Regions from separate parts of the Homo sapiens genome. Here region 2 is linked to region 1. The links are contacts of gene promoters, found by promoter capture Hi-C in blood cells and fetal thymus (Javierre and others, 2016). All regions are on one chromosome and are shown on one strand. Each heading gives the region's core, a stretch centred on a gene start or on the middle of the fragment in contact. The rest is flanking DNA. Distances are from core to core; before and after follow the strand shown. Region 1 holds the start of GASK1A (golgi associated kinase 1A). Region 2 overlaps ANO10 (anoctamin 10).

Region 1 (3,940 bases), core at 565-3,064:
ATGACTCACAGAACGGGAAGCTTACGCTGGCAGTGGGGCAAACACACCAATGTTCCCCTAGGCAGCCTGAGCAGAAGGCAGGTACCATCTCTCCTCCAGGCACTCTGCTTCAGCCGCAGACCACAGAGCCTCTGCTACATTTGCCTTTAAAGCCAGGAGACTCCAGCATGCTAATGCCCCTCGGAGTGGATGGCTGTGGCCTGAGTTCTGGTAACACTCTTGCTCCTAAACAGGGAATTTGTAATAGGATATCTCCACACTTTTCGTTTCACATCCTGTACCCCCAATCATTCCCCCTTTTGAAGCTTAAGATTCCACTATTTCCTTCTCTTAGCAGCTTTGAGAAAAAACCTGAAGCTGGATAGGTGTTAGGAGGGGTGAAACATACACACACCCCTAGCCTCAAAGGTACCCTTCCCTGAGCCCCCAGCTCCTTATGACCAGCCCTCCACCTCTGTTCCAGCCACCTGCCAGGCCCCCCTGCACACAAAGGAGCTGTTCTCACAGAGACCCTCCATCCTACAGCGCAGTCTCTAGACAGCCTTCTAAACCCCAGGCCCAGCAAAACTCCCCACAAAGCATCTCCAGTGGGTTCCGATCTGCCTTCTGTGAGCTTGGAAGGAAAGGGAAGAGGCGAGCAGGCACGGAAGCAGCCAGGGGAGCCCAGTGAACTGCAGGAGCCCAGTTGGGGTTGCAGGGGTTTTCTGCTGCGGGAGAAGCAGAGCAACTAACCAGCGGCCGGGCCTGAGGGACGCCCCTTTCCTGGGGTTGCATGTGTCCTTTAGCTAAGCCGCCTGGGCCACATTCTCGATGGGTTTTTCTTTTCTGCCTGTTAGTGTCTGTGAAGTTGATCAATGGAAGGGCCACGTCCACAAGATCCTGGTTTCATCGTGACATCCCAGACCCACCAGTGCTTCCACATCTGCCCAACAGTCCTCCTGTCGGGGAGGTAGAGGAAGGCGGATTGGAACCTTACTAGAGCCAATTTAACTCAATGTTAATTTAGTTATTAAATGTTAATAAACGTTAGGACATTATTTTTAATATCAATACATAGCTAAATTAGAGAAGATAGTATAAAATTCACATGAACTTTGGAGAGTATTAAAATGACTTCAAAAGCATCTCATCAGAGGCTGCCGTGGGTTCCCCAGGGAACGCTCCCCTCTCCCTGCCTTGTGGATTGCATGAAGATTGCAGAGTTGCGAGTGGGTTACGGTTAGGTCAAGGAGTGCAGATTAGTAATAAAAGCCCCCTTATTACGGTCCGCCCCACTAAGAGCGGCAGGAAAGCCGATCGCCCCCAGCTCTGGTGCAGAAATGAAAGCCGCCGCCGCCCCATGCAACTTTCGGGGAACAACTCCGGCCTCGGGAGGCCGCGCAGGCTGCGCGCGCCCTGGGCCGCTGCGCGTTGACTGCAGCCACCTGTCCTGGTGATCGCCCCACCCTCCGCTCGCGCGTTCCTTCCCGCGAGTCCTACCATGTCCCCGGCGGTGCCCCGGCCGGCTCCTCGGCGCGCTCAGCCGGCTCGCAGACTCATCCCGCCTCCCCTTGGCCGCCCCCGGCGCCGTGGCTCGCCAGGCTTCCCAGGATGCGCGGCTACTCGGCTGGGGCGGGTTTCCCGGACTGAAGGTGCACACGTTCTCTGCAGCCAAGTGGCCCTGCGCCAACTCTCGGGAGATCGCTGCACACCGGGATACTCCGCGGGTGGGGAATACACGCCGGATCTACTGAGATCTACGGGGATCTGAGGGAGCCTACCCGCGGCCGCGAGCCTCTGCGGTCTACTCGGGACTTTTGCAGAGTTTGCAAAGTCCCTGCCGCGCGTCCCGGCCCAGCTTCCCCATTCCCCTGAAAGCGCGGGAGGGGGAAGCTCCCTTCACAATAAAAGCCCTGCCGGGGGCTCGGCCAGCCGCAGTCTTCTGGTCTTCTGGAGTAGGGGCCCAGGTGCTAGGAAGGAAAGGTCTACGCCCTGACTGCCCGCCTGACGGGTGATGCACCAAGGCTGGACGGTGAGGGACGCCTCTAAGGTGTGAGGGTGCTTGGTGAGTTCGCTGCAACTCAGCAATATGGCTGAGTGTTGCCCAAACTGCCACCCTCTCCTGCCAAGCAGGACAAGTCTTTTTCTTTACTGTCGCTTGTCAGAAGGACAAGTCTTTTTTTACTGTCACTTCTTCGCCTTGTTTGGGTTCAGTCCCCAAGAGGATTTGGAAGGAAAATCCGTTGACCACTAAGCTAATTAACAATGAAGAGTTTTTGTCCTTGAGAACTAATCACTGTTAAAGTCACTGAAGTAAGTGGCTGATACCTCTCTGCTTTGGATGCACAGACAGTGCCTTTGTGTCCCCTGAGTCACCTACTGCCAACAAAGGCACAGTCAGAGCAAGACCTGAGAGTCTATCCGTTCCCCGTTGGGGAATGTCCTGGGCTTAGGGGTTCTGTAGTCCCAAAATCAGGGCTAGCCCCACTATTAACAGCTGGATGACCATCGACCAGTCCCCAGACGTCTTTATGACTTGTGTCCCCCAGTGGCCCAATGTTTGGACCCCAGGATTATTAAGAGCCTGTAGACAATGGATGGAGGCGAGGCAGAGTCAGCAGTAGGGTGCTCTGAGAGAATTTGGGGGCCAGGCTGAAAAATTAGCCTCCAGTACTGAAACTAACAGGAAGCATCATTAGCTAGATGAAGACAGGCATCTTCCCAGCAGTCTCCTGCCCCAGAATGATCTGAGGTTATCACTGATGGCAGTGCTTCTAAAGGGAAGCAAAGATCCAGAGAGTCCCCTTAAATTGTGTATGTGTGTATGGGCAGGAGGAACAGATGAAGGGAAAGTATTCGGTCCTTAACATTCCAGATGCTTTCTGTACATTATTTCATTTAATAACCACAAACGATCCTAAAAGGAAAACTTTTGCAAATTAGGAAAGTCAGGATTAGGGAGGTGAAGTAACTTTCCTGAGACCAGATCGCCAGTAAACAGTTTAGCAAATCCAAGTCTATTTGCCAGAACATGAAACAAAGAGGAAGACTTGATATGGCAGGAACAGGAGGCAGGATGTAGCACTGCAAACTGCAGCTTGTCTGTGCATATGGACTACTGAAAGGACAGAGAGTTTGAGCCCTGGTTGGGAAATGAGGGAAGAGGGTGGAGGACAGTACAAACCATTCAGGGTTTTATTTAGATGTTTAGGGAGACGCTGTGATCTTTTGAGTCTCATTTTCTGACTGTGACCCCACACAAGATATATATTAAACATATATGTATAAATGTAACTAAAAGATTGTTTTATAAAACATTACTTCATGTGATGCACTCTGACATTTTCTATTCTATTCCAATTTTATGTATTTTTAATGATGGTCTCAAATCACTAACTTAGACAGGAAGAGAGTGCCCAGTATTTCCAGGATTACTGGAAGCAGAACTGTTTTTCAAAAGAAGCAGCTCCAATGACTCATGGAACACACTTGGGAAAAGCTGCTGCAGGATCTAGCCCAGCCAAATAAAATGTCACACAAGAACATGGCTAAGCTGTAAAGAATTGTTTGTTGTTATAGCATATCCTGGTCCATCCTAATAACATGAATAAAATTACTTTTAAGAAGAATTACTTGAAAAGAGTCATAAATCAGATTTTTGTCATTTCTCTGCTCAAAACCTACCAGAGGCTTCAAATCTCCTGCAGTGTAACATGCCACATCTTACAGGGGCCTACAAGTCCTTTCACACTTTGGCCCTCATTGGTTCTCTAACATTATCTCTGCACACTCTCTCTCACTGTGCTCCAGGACACACTCACCTTCTTATTGTCCCTTGCATATTACAGGCAAGATCCCACCTCAGGACCTTTGCACTTGTTATCCCTCTCCCTAGAATGCCCCAGATATCCCCATGGTTTGCTCCCTCATCTCCTTCAGGTCTTTGCCCAAGTGTCACCTC
Region 2 (3,940 bases), core at 673-3,172, 540 kb before region 1:
GAACCCCCTTTTCAGGCATACTTAGCTTAAGTTGACAGGTTTGAATATTGGTTTGCCTGAAAGACTGGTGTAATATACATGAGTCATCCTGTTTTATCACTGAACACATAAACCTCTTTCCTGTGTCCAGAGAATCTCTGACCTCATGGCAGATGCCCCCTCCCACTATAGAAGCTGATAATGCAGGTACTCCCTTTCCAGCCTCCCTTGCTTCTGGGGTATGGACGTGGGCACATGATCTATATTGAGCCAGTAATAATTTTTTACCCTAAACTTTGAACTGTAAGCTTTTGGACCCCAAGAGGCAGGTACCATGCAGAATCCACTCAGCTGACAGTAGCTGTGGCAGTGCTATGCCAATGGTGTTGTGCCTGTGTGCAGCCTGGCATCATTGCTGAACCAGCTCTAGATATGACTTTGGACATTGCTCCTCACTGTATGACTGCTCAGCCTGGTTCTTTAGACCTTTTAGAGGGTACGTGAACTACCTGATAACCTTTTAACCAACCTCTTCTTTGCCCAGATACACCAGAATTGGTATTTGTGGCTTGCAAGTAAAAACCCTGCTTGATTCAGTTACATTTCCAGCATCAATACTTTCAAAGACAGAGAGCAGAACACAGTTGTCTATATTAAACTGCAGTGAAATGACAGATCCCTAATGCATAAAGTTGTATGAAGCTCTTGGTTTGTAGGTAAATGAATAGTCACAAGACTTAGGAGGATCTTGTGCTATATATGCAATGACATGATGAAAGTCACAGGGTTTTCCTAGAAAAGAACACCAGAATATTGCTATGATCATAAAGAATGGTGAAAGTGTAGATGCAGAAATAGCTGTAGAGCTTTTTTTTAATGTATTTTTTTATCATGGTAAAATATAATAACATAATTTGCAATTTTAATTATATTGAGTGTGTAATTTAGTCACATTAATTATAGTCACAGCATTGTGCAGTCATCACCACTATCAATTTCCAAAACTTTTTCATTACCCCAAACAGAAATTCTGTACGCAGCAGGCAATGACTCTCCATTTCCCCCTTCCCCTAGTCCCTGGCAACTTCTGCTTTACTTTCTGTCTCTGTGATGTTGCCTGTTCTAGACATTTCATGTAAAGAAAATAATACATTTATTTGTCCCTTTGTGTCTGGCTTATTTCACTTAGCATTATGTTTTTAAGTCTTACCCATGTTATAGTATGTATCAGAACCTCATTCCTTTTTATGGCTAAATAATATGTCATTGTATGCATATACTGAATTCATTCTTCTGTTGATGGACTCTTGGGTTATTTCCACCTTTTGGCTATTTTAGTACAAATGTAAATAATACTGCAGTGAATATTGGCATACAAATATCTGAGTCCCTGCTTTCAATTCTTGTGAGTATATACCCAGGAGTAGAATCACTGGGTCATATGATAATTCTGTGTTTAATTTTTTGAGAAACTTCCAAACTGTTTTCCGTAGCAGCTGTGCCATTTTGCTTTCCCATCAGCAACGTACGAGGGTTTCAGTTTCTCCATATTCTCGTCAACACTTCATTTTCCATTTTCTAAATTATAGCTAACCTAGTGGATGTGAAGTAGTACCTCCTTGTGGTTTTGATTTGCATTTCCCCAGTGATTACTGATGTTGAGCATCTTTTCATATGTCTGGAGCATCTCAACTATATCATTTGTCTCAAGAGCATCTTGATCAGTTAAGTAAAGTTCCATTTCTGTGATTATCATTTTTCCTAGAAGTAAGAGATTGGGGTTCTCTACTATTTATCATTTTATGGCCAGACTCAGCTCTCAAACATAAGGCTTCCCTGTAAATACCATTAAAGGCTTGACAGCAGCATTTTAAAATTTATGCCTTGTTTTCAACCTGATAAGTGATGTGTGTGCAAAACCTGCAGTTAACATCATACTTAATGGTAAAAGGCTGAATGTTTTCTTTTTCTCTAAGATTGGGAACAAGAAAAAGGGTACCTCCCCTTACCACTTACCAGTTTTATTTAGCATTGTCCAGGAAGTTCTAGCCAAGGGAAGTAGATAAGAAAATAAAATGCATGTCGATTGGAAAGGAAGAAGTAAAACTATTTCTCTTTGCAGGTGATGTGCTCTTGTAAATAGAAAATCCTAAGGAATCCATTAAAAACAATTCAGACGAATAAATGAGTTCAGGTTACAAGAGACAAGAACAATGTACAAAAATGAATTGTATTTCTATACATTAGCAATAAGCAGACTAAATATGAAATTAAGAACACAATTCCATTTATTGTAGCATCAAAAAGAAAAAAATGGAAGACTAAATATTAACATGGTAGTACTTCTCCAATTGATCTATAGATCCAACACAATCCCTATTTTAAATCCTAGCTGACTTATTTTCAAAAATTACAAGTTGATCCTATAATTCATATGGAAATGCAAGGAACCCAGAATAGCTAAAACAATCTTGAAATAAAGAAAATAGTACACGCACTCACATTTCCAAATTTCAAAACTACAGTAATCATAGTAGCATAAGAATGCCCATGTAGTAAAATAATAAATAAATAAAAAGAATGTACATGTAGATCAGTGTACTCAAATTGAGAGGCCAGAAATCAACCTTCACATTTTATGGTCAATTGATTTTCAACAAGAGTTCCACGACAATTCATTGGGGGAAGAATAGTCTTTTCAACAAATGGTGCAAACAGCTGGATATCCACATGTAAAAGGATGAAGTTTGGACTCCATGCTGTGGTCTGTTTCTATCCCCCTAAAATTCATATGTTGAAACCTAATCACCAGTGTTGTGTTAATTATCAGACACCAAATTTGCCAGCACCTTAATCTTGGACTTCCCAGCCTCTGGTACTGTGAGAAATAAATTTCTGTTGTTTATAAGCTATCAAGTATATGGCATTTTGTTTATAGCAGCCTGAATAGACTAACATACACTATATACAAAAATCAACTAAAACTGGATTAATGACCTAAAAGTAAGAGCTGGGGAGGAGGATATGGAAGATGGCAAGAAGGAAAGTTGTATGGACCAGGCCAGGAAGGGGCACATATAACTCCAACTCACATTTCACTGGTTGTGGAAGTCAGCCATGTGGGTATCAGGAGACCATATGGTCACTGGGAAGCTGGGAAATGTGGTCCAGCTCTGTGCCCAGAATAAAGAGGAGATGATTTAGGTGAATAGATAGCCATCTCTGCTACAAGGAGGTTGCCATTGGTTATTCCTGTGGACCTCTACATTCTGAAATTCTGTCCTGTATTAGCTCTCCCTCATTAAGCCCTACAGTTACAAGAACTGAAAAGAAACAAGACAAATAACACTTCTTTTCCTTGGACATAAGAAAAATGTAAAGTTCAGCCAACAAAGTTAACTTCACAGCAATCTTGCTTGCAAAAAATATGCCCCGTGATCTTGTAACCTACCTGTGTATCAGCATGATCCTGGCCCGAGACCATGATGATCTCTCCTGATCTCTGGTCTGCCCTCATATGAGTGAAGGGATAAGCATGGTTCTCATACTTGATGTAGAGGCTAGTTGGATGAAGCTTTTGAAAATGAGTGAACACTACCTTATAGGAGGACAAACAAGCAAACAAGTAATGGCTCCAAATGAAACCAAATGTATGAATTAGATTCCATCAAAGATCCTCTGGAATGGACATCAGAAAGTTGGACGGTGCCCCATTGCAACCAGAGGATTCTCCCCTCAGTGGCAGGATCACAAGAATAAATTTGCTTGTCCATCTTAGTTAGAGTATCTTGAGGGCATCTGTTTTGTGAATTGATATATATTCTCAATTGAAAAAGAAGTAGTGTGCTCCAGCGGTGAGTTTGTAATCTAATTGTATGTAATGTGCTCTGTGGATATGATTACAGAGACTGATGGAAGAGCTAAAGGGAAACAGAATACAGGGGATGTTATAAATAAGGCA

What was found. Contacts are between HindIII fragments. The CHiCAGO score rates a contact against its expected background, and 5 or more counts as called.
Region 2: a contact is called between a fragment that was not itself captured here and the fragment with the promoter of GASK1A in region 1, in 1 of 17 cell types (non-activated CD4 T cells). The highest score is 6.6, in non-activated CD4 T cells.

The regions. Positions count from the first base shown.
Region 1 is chr3:42,977,185-42,981,124 of GRCh38, reverse strand. GASK1A (golgi associated kinase 1A) reads right to left here and starts at 1,814. Exons shown (of 5, transcript NM_001129908.3): 1 at 1,480-1,814. The coding sequence starts at 1,482. The HindIII fragment of the contact is 11,487 bases long and covers 308-3,940 here.
Region 2 is chr3:43,519,248-43,523,187 of GRCh38, reverse strand. All of the region lies in intron 11 of ANO10 (anoctamin 10), which reads left to right. Among named protein-coding and RNA genes, the nearest start is that of ANO10, 100 kb to the left of the region's middle. The HindIII fragment of the contact is 3,266 bases long and covers 290-3,555 here.